2 separate regions of the Homo sapiens genome follow, and region 2 is linked to region 1. Evidence: promoter capture Hi-C in 16 types of primary human blood cells and fetal thymus (Javierre and others, 2016). All regions are on one chromosome and are shown on one strand. Each heading gives the region's core, a stretch centred on a gene start or on the middle of the fragment in contact. The rest is flanking DNA. Distances are from core to core; before and after follow the strand shown.

The links. Contacts are between HindIII fragments. The CHiCAGO score rates a contact against its expected background, and 5 or more counts as called.
Region 2: a fragment that was not itself captured here is called in contact with the fragment with the promoter of NUMA1-AS1 in region 1 in 10 of 17 cell types (endothelial precursors, naive CD4 T cells, non-activated CD4 T cells and 7 more); the score reaches 13.1 in endothelial precursors.

What each region holds. Positions count from the first base shown.
Region 1 is chr11:72,012,891-72,018,869 of GRCh38, forward strand. NUMA1-AS1 (NUMA1 antisense RNA 1) reads left to right here and starts at 1,401. Exons shown (of 4, transcript NR_104178.2): 1 at 1,401-3,997; 2 at 4,469-5,404. It overlaps NUMA1 (nuclear mitotic apparatus protein 1), which reads right to left. Exons shown (of 27, transcript NM_006185.4): 10 at 5,933-5,979; 11 at 5,506-5,623; 12 at 5,293-5,410; 13 at 4,797-4,937; 14 at 3,518-3,640; 15 at 5-3,370. RefSeq lists enhancers at 2,055-2,802, 4,959-5,979. The HindIII fragment of the contact is 6,447 bases long and covers 1-1,406 here.
Region 2 is chr11:72,095,328-72,101,306 of GRCh38, forward strand. The region is part of intron 5 of LRTOMT (leucine rich transmembrane and O-methyltransferase domain containing); the gene reads left to right. It overlaps LRRC51 (leucine rich repeat containing 51), which reads left to right. Exons shown (of 6, transcript NM_145309.6): 6 at 52-1,568. The coding sequence ends at 193. It overlaps LAMTOR1 (late endosomal/lysosomal adaptor, MAPK and MTOR activator 1), which reads right to left. Exons shown (of 5, transcript NM_017907.3): 2 at 3,784-3,929; 3 at 3,454-3,531; 4 at 2,962-3,088; 5 at 1,965-2,587. The coding sequence ends at 2,495. Among named protein-coding and RNA genes, the nearest start is that of LAMTOR1, 5.0 kb to the right of the region's middle. The HindIII fragment of the contact is 4,108 bases long and covers 1-3,360 here.

The sequences.
Region 1 (5,979 bases), core at 151-2,650:
TTACCTGGGCAGTGAGTTTCTGCCTCTCTTCCTGGAACCGCTGCCTCTCCTCCAGGACCTTGACCTTGGCACCCTCATACTTGGCAGTCATCACCTCCAGCTCCCGGGCAGTGCTCTGTGCTTCTCGCTGCACCTCAGCCAGACGGGTCTCAGCATCAGCACGTACGGCTGCCAACTCTTGGACATACTTCTCCCGGGCCTGGTCCAACTCCACTTCCAGAAACTGCCGGCCAAGGTTGGCCCGCTCACCCAGCCCCCGGTTCTCCTCTGCCAGCAGGCCATGCGCCTTCTTCAGCATGCTCAGCTGCTCTGCATAGCTGGCCTTCTCTGCCCGCAGCTGCTGAGCTGTTCGCTCCTGCTCTGCCACCTTCTGCCGCAGAGGAATCAGCTCCCCAAGCTCCCGCTGGGCCCGCAGCAGCTCTGCCCGCAGTCCCCCAGCGGCCTGCTTGCTCTGCTCCAGCTCCTCACGGTGGCGTTTCTCGGCAGCGGCCTGCTCGGCCTGCAGCTGCTGGCAGAGGTGCTTAGCTGGCAGCAGCTCACTCACCAGGGCCTGTGTGCTGGTGTGCTCGAGCTGCAGGGTGGAGAGGGCCTGCTCTTTCTGGAAGAACTTCTCCTGCCACGCCTTCAATTCTTGGCCCAGCTCCTCCGCACGCTCAGCCTGTGAGGTCAGCTCCTGCCGCAGGTTCTCTGAAGCCACCCGCTGTTTCTCAGCCTCCTCCCGGAGGCTCTGCACCTCCTCCCGCAGAGCAGAGCTGCGTTCTGCAGCTCTGGCACTGTTGCTGGCTGTCTCTGCCTGCAGCAGGCGCAGCCTCTCCTCCAGCTTCTGGCTCTTCTCTGACTCGGCCATCACCAGCCGCTTCAACTCCTTGCTCTCCCCCTCCTTCTCCAGGACCTGGCGATTCAGGATGGACACCTCCTCCTCCAAGCTGCTGATGAGGCTATTTTTCCTCTCAGCCTCTTGCCGGCCCCGGGCCACCTGGGCCTTCCACTCATCTTCAGCCTTGCTGTGGTCTTGTACCTTGGTGCGGAAGGCAGCCAACTCCCGTTGGGCCGAGGCTAAGGCACTCTGACTGTGCCCTAGCTCCTGGGCCTTCTCCTCTAACTGGCCCTGCAGAGTCTCCAGAGCACTGTCCCGCTCAGCCCGGGAGGCCCGCTCAGCCTCGAGGCTGCGTTCCAGGCTGTCAGCCTGCTCCTGCTGCTTCTGGCATTGCTGTTCCAGCTTGCTCACCTCTGCCCGCAGTGCCTCCAGCTTGGGGCCTGTTGGCTCTGTCCTGCCAGCAGCCTCAGATTGGGCTCCTGAGCCAGATGCGTGCTCCTTTTCTTTCTTAGCCAGCTGTTCCTTCAGTTGCTTCACGGTTTGCCGAAGTTCCTCCAGCTCTTTTATCTGGGCTGCCTCCAGACCACGAAGCTTGGCCAACTCCTGGTCCTTGCCTTCCTTTTCCGTCAGGGCATGAGCCAGTGCCTCTTGCAGGGTAGCGAACTCCACACGCTGCTCGTTGAGGGCGTTCTGCAGCCGCATCTCAAGCTCTGCTCTGGCCGCCTTCTCCAGGGCAAGGTCAGCCTGGGCACGGCCCCGCTCCTGGGTCAGCCGCGCCACCTCCCTTTCCTGCTGCCCACGCTCCTCCTGCTGCTGCCCCTGGCTCTCCATCAGCGCGGCCCGCAGCCGTTCCAGCTCATTGCCCATCTGCTCTGCCTCCCGCTCCATAGCCTGCAGCGCTGCCTGTGTGCTGCAGAACTGGCGTCCCTGTTGCTCTTCCAGCCACTCGGGCTGTCTGTCTCCTGCCCTCGCAGGCTCCTTGACTAACTCCCGGGAGGCTGTTTCCTGCTGCTCACCTGCCTTGCGCACCAAGGTCTCCAAGCGGGCCACCTCTTTGCTGGTGGCAGCCATCTTTTCCTGCAGAGTGGAGAGGTCATCTGCAAGCTTCTGGGCCCTGACTTCCTTCTCTTGGACCTGCTGGAGTGCTCTGGCCAGGTTGGCATGGAGCTCAGCTAGTTCGTTCTGCTGCCGGCTTATCTGGAGCTCGCTGTGGGATTCTATGCCTGCCACCTTCTCCTTTGCCTCCTGCAGCTCCTGGCGGGCCTTCTCACATTCCTCCTTCAAAGTCATCAGCTGTTCCTGGAACATGGCGCCATACTGTGCCTCCTCTTGCTGGCTATCCTCATACCGCTCACGCCAGGCAGCTACTTCTTTGACGAGCTGCTCACACTCACTCTCAGCTGTGTGCTGGGCAGCCATGGCCTCTGCCAGCTCCCGCCGCAGGACTTCAGTCTCAGCCTGATGGGCCTCCCCAAGCTGCTGTAATCGAGCCTCCAGCCCCTTGCGCCCAGCCCTCTCTTCTTCCAGCTCCTTTCGTTCCCGCTTATGCTGCTCCACCAGGCTTCGGGTCTCTGCCTTCAGCTCAGAGATACAACGCTGCTGCTCTTCCAGGGCATCTGCAGCCCTGCGCTTCTCCTCTTCAAGGCTGCCCTTGGTGACCTTCAAGGACTCTTTGAGGGCCTGGAGCTGCTCCTGGAGCTGGTCCTTCTCCTGGGCCACCCTTTCTTTCTCAGTTGCTTTTTGCTGCTCAGACCGCAGCTGCAACTCTAGCTCTGCAACCTGGGCCTGGGCCTCATGCTGTTCCTGGCGGGCTGTCTCAACACAGGCCTGGAGTTCCTCCACCTTCCGGCTCAGCTCTGCCTTCTCCCGCTGGGCCTGTGTCACTGAGGTCTGGGCACTGTCCCGGGCTTCATTAGCCACCTGAAGTTGCTGCTGCAGAATCTCCAGCTTGGCAGCCTTCTCCTTCTCCAGTGCCTCCAGCTGCTTGAGAGCCGCATCCCGCTCCCTTAAGGAGGCCTCTCGCTCCTCTGCAGCAGTGGCCAGTTGCTGGGCATGGTCCTGCCTAGTTGCCTCCTGCTTCTCCGCTACCTCCTTCAACTGCTGCTCCTTCTGCTTCAGGCTACTGCTTAGCTGCTCCACCTGGTGGCGGAGGCCCTGGGAGGCCTGTTCTTGCTGTTGGAGGGTCTGTGCTAGCTGGGCCTGCTTCTCTTTGGCCTGCTGCTTCAGGCCAGCCAGTTCTTGATCCTGTTGCTGGATGGTGGCATTGAGTGTGGTGAGCTCAGAGGTCAGAGAGGCCACCTGGGCAGTCAACCGGGCCCCATGAGCCTGGGAGGCCTGCTCCAGCTCTTCCTTGGCCTGGCTGAGGTTGGAGATGGAGCTCTGCAGGTCAGTGATCAGGCTAGACAGCTGCTGCTTTTCTTCTTCGAAGTGGCCCCGCTCAGCAAGCAGCTTGGCTTCCTGCTGGCCTCGCTCAGTCTCCAGCATCTCTACCCTGGCTTGGAGCTGTGTGTTGTTTGCAGCAAGAGTGGCTGCCTCTTGCTTCAAGGTTTCCAGCTGGTGGTATAAAGAGACAAACTGGGATCAGCATGACTCCTCAGTCATCAAGACTCCTCTGGAAATGGAGGAACACCAGGAACCCAAATGTACTGAATGTGAGTCCACACCAACCAGCAGCACACAGGTCTTTCTGTGCATTCCTACCTGCAAGACATCACCCAGCACCTCGCCCTTCTCCTGGGGTGGGTTATCCTGCAGCTGGGACAAGTGTTCTTCCAGCTGTGAAAGTTTTCCCTGAAGGATTTCGTTCTTCTCTTCAAGGCATTTCTGGGAGTAAATGAGACCCATGTGAACAGAGAGGGGGAACAGGCACCAGATTACCACACAAGCCCTCATAAACATCAGCAAACATGGGGCCCATCATCTTGTTACCAAGATCTCCTTTTGCCCTGGCCTAGAAAAAAGCAGAAACCATGGAACTGGGAGCATGAGGGACCTGATTCTCTAGACCTAGTTCTAAGGCACAATAAAGTCATAATGTAACCTGCTTACTACTTCCCCAAGGCTGCTGAGTTTACTTCAAATTTCCTTACCGTATACCCTTCCTCAGATAAGTCTTGAGTCCTAGATTATCCAAATCACCACCAGCTGCCCACCATCCTCTGGGCAGCAATACCACTGGCAGCAGCTGCAGCAACCCCCAGTCCCAAACCCACTTCTTCACCACTGTTCACTAAGCACCTACAATAGGCTATGCTGGGTTCATCCCTAATTTTTTTTTTTTTTTTTTTTTTTTTGAGACAGAGTCTCGCTCTATCGCCTAGGCTGGAGTGCAGTGGCGAGATCTTGGCTTACTGCAACCTCCACCTCCCAGATTCGAGAGCTTCTTCTGTCTCAGCCTCCCGAGTAGCTGGGACTACAGGCATGCATCACCACACCCAGCTTATGTGGGAGGCAGCTACTACCATTCCTCTTACAGAGCAAGAACCTGAAGCAGATGCTAAGTGCCTTGATCAAGGGCTACATGGTTATTAGTAAGTGGCCAAATTGGGTTCTTACCAATAGTAACAATCACAACTGGTTCACTGAGAGCTTACTTTACACTACACGATGTGTGAAGTGCTTTACATACGTTTTCTCATAATAGGTGATGAGGCAGCTACTCGTTACTACTCCCATTTTAGGGAAAGGATGCTTAGAAAAACAGACTGATTAACTTGTCCAAGATCCACATCTTGTGAACAGCAGAGATAGGATTGAAAGGTGTACTATAAAGTGAGGGCATTGACTGGGGAAAAAAAAAATAAGTTAAAAAAAAAAGGTGTACTAGACTGAAGCCCACAATCTTTCAATTACAGCACACTATTGAACCTTGAAGAGAAAGCAACTTAATACCCAAAGGCCCAGAAGAGCACAGTGGTAAACTGGACTCAGCTTTGCACATGTGGTCAAGACTGTGGCTGTGACCCCAGCAGAGGGTTACCTTGTCCTGCAGGGCTGCGCTGAGCTCCTTCTCCAGCTGGGCCTGCTTCTCTAGCCACTCCTGAGTGGCCTTGCTGTGCTCCTCCGTCAGCTCATTGAGGGCATCCTGTAGCTGCTGCAGATGACTGGCAAACTCCCGCAGCTGAGACGGGCAAGTGAGAATCCCCATCACCCAGAGTCAACGCTGACCCCACCACTGCTGTCTGCTCCCAGAACCCCAGGGGCTGGATGCCTCCAATTATCCTGCCAACCCTCTACAAACCAATCACAGCCATCACACCTCTAATTCAGAACTACAAATCAACATTTAGGGTCACAGCCCAGTACCCGGGAAGCCGCCAATTATGGGATAAGGAAAGGGGCAAAATATGCAGGTCTCTGGAGAGACTGAAGCATAAGACAGGTGCTGGGACATTCTTCTCAACCCTCTCTTGGGGAGCCTTCCAGACCACCTCAGCCCTGAGGGGCCTCCATGCACACACCACCTTAACACCCACCTTAAAGGAAAGGTCTCCATTCTCCTCCGAAAGCTGGTTGATTTTGCGATCCATCTGGCTCTTCTCTGTCTTCAGGTCCTGGCACTGCTTCAGGGTTTCATGCAGCCGCATGGTAAGGCTGCGAGGGAGGGAAGCAGTGAGAAGAGAGTATGGGTTCCTGGCTGGGTGAGGGGAGGGGCTGGGGCCTGGGAAGGAATGCAGGGAGAGCTGTACCTCTCATTCTTGTCACGCAGCTCCTCAAGCTCCTTGGGCTCCAGTGGGCTGGCCGCCTGCTTCTCATTCAGCAGGGCTAGGCGGTCAATGCGCTGCTGCATCATGGCTATCTGTGCATCTGCCCAGAGTGGAGGGAGGAGGAGAGGAGAATCAGAACTATGTGCATGAGCGGAACTATGTGCACAGAACTATGTGCACAAGGGGAAGGGAGGAGACGGCATAGGGAAGAGGAGGAATATGGTATCCAATCTAAGGGAAAGAGAAGATGGGGACAAAGACAGAACCTAGCTTCCAGGAGGTCAGCCTGACCACAGGCCCAGGGCTGAGCTCTCAGCTCCAGGGGCCAGCAGAGGGGACAACATGGGAGGCCAGGGGACATCCTTCCGGCAAGTCTATTCACACATCTGCCAGTGTGCCAGCCACCTACCCTTCTCGGTGAGGAGCTTGCGGTTCTCAGCTAGCTCCAGCTCCAGC
Region 2 (5,979 bases), core at 57-2,556, 82 kb after region 1:
GAAGGGGATTCTGGTGGGGGTGCTGGCCCCCAGCCTAAGTCTTCCCCACAGGCAATATGTGCTGTGCACCCTGTCCCGTATCACCACGTTCGACTTCAGTGGGGTCACCAAAGCAGACCGCACCACAGCTGAAGTCTGGAAACGCATGAACATCAAGCCCAAGAAGGCCTGGACCAAGCAGAATACACTTTGAGGCTCCCACGACCCTAGTAGTCCTAAAGGCCTAAGCATAGACAGCATGGTTTGACAATAAATAATTTGAGCTGTTGAGCAGATGAGAAGTCACTTACACCTTGTAGAGATGTTCTCTAACTCAGGCAACTGCAAGTAGCTCTAGCCTTTTCTTTTCTTTTTTTTTTTTTTGAGACGGAGTCTCACTCTGTCACACAGGCTGGAGTGCAGTGGCACGATCTTGGCTCACTGCAACCTCAGCCTCCCAGGTTCAAGAGATTCTCCTGCCTCAGCCTCCCCAGTAGCTGTGATTAAAGGCGCCTGCCACCATGACTGGCTAATTTTGTTGTTGTTGTTGTTGTTTTGAGACGGTTTCACTCGTCACCCCAGCTGGAGTGCAGTGGTGCGATCTCAGCTCACTGCAACCTCCGCCTGCTGGGTTCAAGCGATTCTCCTGCCTCAGCCTCCTGAGTAGCTGGGATTACAGGCGCCTGCTACCACATCCAGCTAATTTTTTTTTTTGAGACGGAGTCTCGCTCTGTCACCCAGGCTGGAGTGCAGTGGCACGATCTCGGCTCACTGCAAACTCCGCCTTCCAGGTTCACGCCATTCTCCTGCCTCAGCCTCCCAAGTAGCTGGGACTATAGGCACCTACTACCACGCCTGGCTAATTTTTTGTATTTTTAGTAGAGACGGGGTTTCACCATGTTAGCCAGGATGGTCTCCATCTCCTGACCTTGTGATCCACCCACCTCGGCTTCCCCCAGCTAATTTTTTATATTTTAGTAGAGACAAGGTTTCGCCATGTTGGCCAGGCTGGTCTTGAACTCCTGACCTCAGGTGATCCGTCTGCTTTGGCCTCCCAAAGTGCTGGGATTAGAAGCGTGAGCCACCACGCCCAGCCTTTTTTTGTATTTTTAGTAGAGATGGGGTTTCGCCATGTTGGCCAGGCTGGTCTCAAACTCCTGACCTCAGGTGATCTGCCCACCTCAGCCTCCCAAAGTGCTAGGATTACAGGATAAGCCACTGCACCTGGCCAGCTCTAGTCTTATTTTGCTGAAAAAGGGAGGCAATTGAGGGAAAGGCCTGCTGGCCTGGGACACTGGAGACGTGGGTTTACCACACAGCCTTGGGAAATTTATCTAACTCTCTGGGCCCCTTTGTACTTTTCAGCTTAGAGATTTGGGGGTTAAAGTAGATCAGTAATTTCCAAACTCTTCACAGAGTACCAGGGTCTGTAGAGATGCCTCACAGGCCTCCATGACAGGCCAAGAAGATGGCCTATGATCTCTGAAACCAGCCCCCACTTCAATCAGATCAAAGTAATTCCATTCTGTTTTATATGCTGGGATTCTGCTTAAGATTTCATTTGATAAAAAGAATCTTCTGCTTAAAAACATTTGCTTGCTGACTCCATATTAGGTATTCCCAGAAGAGCCTGGTCTGCTTTCTCTCTCCACCCCCCAACCCGCCATGTCTCCCTTCACCCCCAGGGGCTGTTGGTAATTCCATTGAGTCTGAGGCAGGGCCCCCAAGAATCAAAGCTGCCTCAGATTCAGGTCTGTTCAGCTTTGACAGTGTTCCCATCATCACTGGACAAGGGACAAGAACAGTCTCATCCAGTCTGAGGTTAGCCCAAGCCAGGTCTCAGCTAAGAGCTGACACCCTAAACCCTTGTCTCTTGGGTTCATCTTCAATATCCCTGGAAGATGTCCCCTTCCCCCCATCTTACTCTCATAGACCTAAGTAATCAAAAGTAGAATGGGTAGAACAGAGGGGCCAGAACCAGCACATGGATGAATATACTTCCTTTATCGAGGGTGACAAACCAAAACAAAAAAAGACCAAACATGTAAAAACCCAGGGTTCTAGAAATACAAACTCAATTCATTCAAATTCAAGCTCATCCAGACCCTGGTCACAAACCCTAGTGAGGTGCATGTGAGCACCAAGTCAGGGAGAGGGGGCAGGAGTGACTCTGAGGCCAACAGAGAGGGTGGGAAGGGGATCTCCCTAGGTCCCCTGGTGATCACCCCCCACCCAAACTGGTATCTCCACATTCTCAATGACTATGAAGACATACCAGGCTCTGTCCTTTTGGCCCCCACCCCATCCCTGGCCAGAGCTTCAAAGGCCAGTCCCAAAAGGTTCTACCCTCACTTGCTCAGGCTTCTAGCCTTCCTCTTCTCCTCCTTCTTCACATTTTTCTCTGTGATTAGTAGCAGGTTAGGGTACTGTATAAGCCGCAGTGAGGCTGGGGGCCAAGGGGGTGGGGTAGAGATGGGATGAAGAGAGGAGAAGAGCTGTCCAAGGACCCCTCTCTTCATGGGATCCCAAACTGTACAACCAGCTCCTCTTTTGCGTCCACACGGATCTGAGAAAGTGCACTGTAGGCATAAGCAGCTATCCTGGAGACCTGAGACAGAGAGGGGCCGGGGAGGAGAGGAACAGAGACAGGTGAGGAGGGCAATCAGGAAAAATGGGGAGGGGAGATTAGATGGTGATGGAGAAGGAGGGAATGAAGGGGAACAGGAAGGCAAAGAGAAAGACAGGGATGGGAGAGACAGAAGGAAAAGAACAAAGGGGAGTGAAACAATAAAGGTTGCAGGAAGGAGATAGGAAAGACATAAAAAGTTAAGAGAACGAGGTGGGAGGGAGCTGGGGCCTACAAGGCTACCAGGCTCCCTAACTCCACCTTCCCTACCTCCTCTGAGGCAGAGTGGGTGAACCCTCTGCCATACCCTGGGCAGTGTGAGAAGGGTGGGCAGGGGCAGGTGAGGGGTGTCTCACCTGCTGCAAATCAGAGAACGGGATGGGCTCACTGGCCAGCACTTGGTGGGGCTGGCTGGTAAGAGACGGCAGCGGTGGCAGCTTCTTCCAATGGGTCAGGCTGCTGCTCAGCACAGCCAAGCGGGTGCTGACCAAGAGAGAGGGGGTGGGGGTAGGCAGTTAAGCCACAGTCTGCCCTGCCCAGCCCAGGTAAGCCTCATCCCCTCAGGCCAGAGAAGCAGGGTGTCGAGGAGGGGTATCTGGGAGGGAAGGTCTCAGCTCATCACAGACTCAATCTAGGCCCATCTCCCTTGGCCTCAGCGCCCTCAAGAGTGTCACAGGGTAAACAGGGCTGACATGAATAACTACTGAAGCACCCAAGTGATCTGTGGTCAGTCTCCAGGGCTGCACCAAATGAGAAGCTTGGACTAGGGGCCAGGCTCCAAAGCTGGAACAGTGATGGAGGGTGGGAGCCCAAGTAGCCTGAGGGACCCACGCTGGCCAGGTGCTCACCTGTACTGCCTGGCACGGTCCATGTACTCATGCTGCTCCATGCCCTGTGAGTCTGCAGCAGACACATCAATGATGTTGCTATGGGGAGAGGAGACAGAGATGACATGACAGGTGCTTCCGAGAAGGACAAACAGGACTCAGTGCCAGGTACCAACTCCAGGGCTATCTGACACCAGTTTCCCTCCTGCCTACTGGAGCAGGGCTGGACATGGAGGCACCTCTCCCCAGTGACCTTGTCCCATCCCCCATGTCCTGAGCCTGGCTCCTTCTATCCTAGCCTTTAATATGGATAGAGGAGCTCTGACCCAGGCCTGGTCCTCTGACACTTACCTGGCTGTCTTGGCAAGGATGGAAGAGAGCAGGGCCTGCTCATCAGTGCGAGCGGAAGGCAGGCTGTGGTAGTTGGGCTCGGCTCCATTGAGAGCTTTGGTAGGGGGGCTGCTAGGGTCCAGCAGCAGCTTCCGCTCCTCTCGGTCCTAGAAGTGGTCATGGGAGAGAAGTCAGCCCCAGGACCCGTAGATCCTGCCTTTCACGGGTGCTACCCTTAGCCCAGCTCTGACCTTAAACACCAAAAATGTTTCTATAAGGAATATCTAAAGTGCCCAGCTTTATGGAATGCCAGATAAGACTCAGTTCCTGCCTATCCTTGGGAGCTCAACTGAGTTGGTGTTCTAGGATAAATGAGAGTGGAACCAGGCAGTCCTAGAGGCCCTGAAAAAATGGACAGAGGCACAAAGCAGGTAGTCAGCAACAGCCCTGGAGCTTGAAAAACATTCTAGGACCTGGCAAAGAAAGGATACTAGAGGCTGGAAGACAGTGGAGCTGAGACATAGCAAGCACTGGGATCTAAAGGGGAAATCAGTGCAAGTCAAGAGCCCAAGAACAGCCTTCCTCATCCCCTAGGACCAGGCCTTCCCCAGCAAAGCTGTTCGCTTCCAAGATGGAAGCCCTGGCGAGTCCAGACAAAGCCCTAGGCCCCAAGAGAAAGCAAGCCCAACCTCTCCATGGCCATTTCTCAAATTATGTCAGGGCAGGAATCCCAGCCCAGCTCTGGGTCACACAGTACAAGTGTGTTCCCTTCTTGAAGGCAGGTCCCTTCGAAGGTGTTCACCCTCCTGTGCTCTGGTGCTCTTTTTGTACGTGACTCCCAGAACCAAACTGAGTGTACATGGTGTATCCTGATCTGAGCAGTACAGCTGTAGCCATGTATGGTGATTCACACCAGTAATCCCAACACTTTGGGAGCCCAAGGCAGAAGGATTGCTTGAGTCCAGGAGTTTGAGACCAGCCTGGGCAACAAAGCAAGACCTCGTCTTTGCAAAAAAAAAAAATTAGCTGGACTTGGTAGTGTGAGCCCTGCAGTCCCACCTACTTGGGAGGCTGAAGTGCAACGACTGTATGAACCCAGGGTTTGAGGCTGCAGTGAGCTAGGACTGTGCCACTGTACTCCAGTCTGGGCAAGAGAGCAAGACCCCATCTCAAAACAAACAACAATGGCGCTGTTCCCTCCCTTGCTAAACCACCTGAGTAGCCCATGTAAATTTTCAGCAGCCCTGTTCCTGCTGGCCTGTGCTGATAATCACAACCCCTGAACTAATGTAAGACCAAACCAAGCTTCCTCATTGGTTTGGTCTTCCTCCTTGTCCTCTTTCAGTCCCCTGTTCTATCTACTGTAATATTTCTGGATTTGACCCTGCCTTGAGACCATCAGCTGCAAATCCTTGCTTGCTGTATCAGCAGTAAATGAGAAAAACAGACCTGCTGGGTATCTATCCAACCCATAAAGAGCAAGAGTGCCCTGAACAAAGCCAAGGATGGGCCCAGGGGGACATCCTGGCTAATGCTGACTCACCAACCTTCAGTGCCAGACTCCTCAATGCTCCCCTCCAGGCCTATCTCAGTTCCTCAGTCTTTCCTGCTGCAGGCCGCAGCTCCCCTGCCCACAACTCCACAACTCTCCTTGTAGAGGGCTACTTCCTCCTGCCCTGCTTAGGGAGGCCCAGCCTTTTCACCTTACTCTTCTTTCTCAAGGCTAGGTTGCCCAAGTGTCCTCAGGCAATTTGATCCAGTTCCCAACAGCAAGAGACAGAAGCTGTGGGCTTTGCCCCATCACCTCTATAAACTCCCAGACACCCTTCCTCCCTAAATACATAGGCTCAGTATTAAAGAGCTAAAAAGACAAAATGTTTGCCAAAGATAAAACTATGTATTTCTAAGGAAAGCTGGCTCCATAATGAGGCCCAAGTTAGCTTCCTATGTGTCTGTCCTCCCAGCTCCACTTCAGACAGATCTTCCTGCAGGACAGGGTAGTCTCTTCCCTATCAGGGGTTCTTCAAGAAGAAGGTTGGCTGATCACTTCTCAGCCTTCAGCTAAGATCAAGTGAACAACAAGGTTATTTTCTTGAAACCCAGACTTAAAGAAGAGGCCATGCTACCTACTTCAGAGCAGACAAACATCACCCCACTCCCAAAGTGCGAGTGGAGCATGGGTTAGGTTTGTCACATCAAGGTTTGTCTCTGCATTAG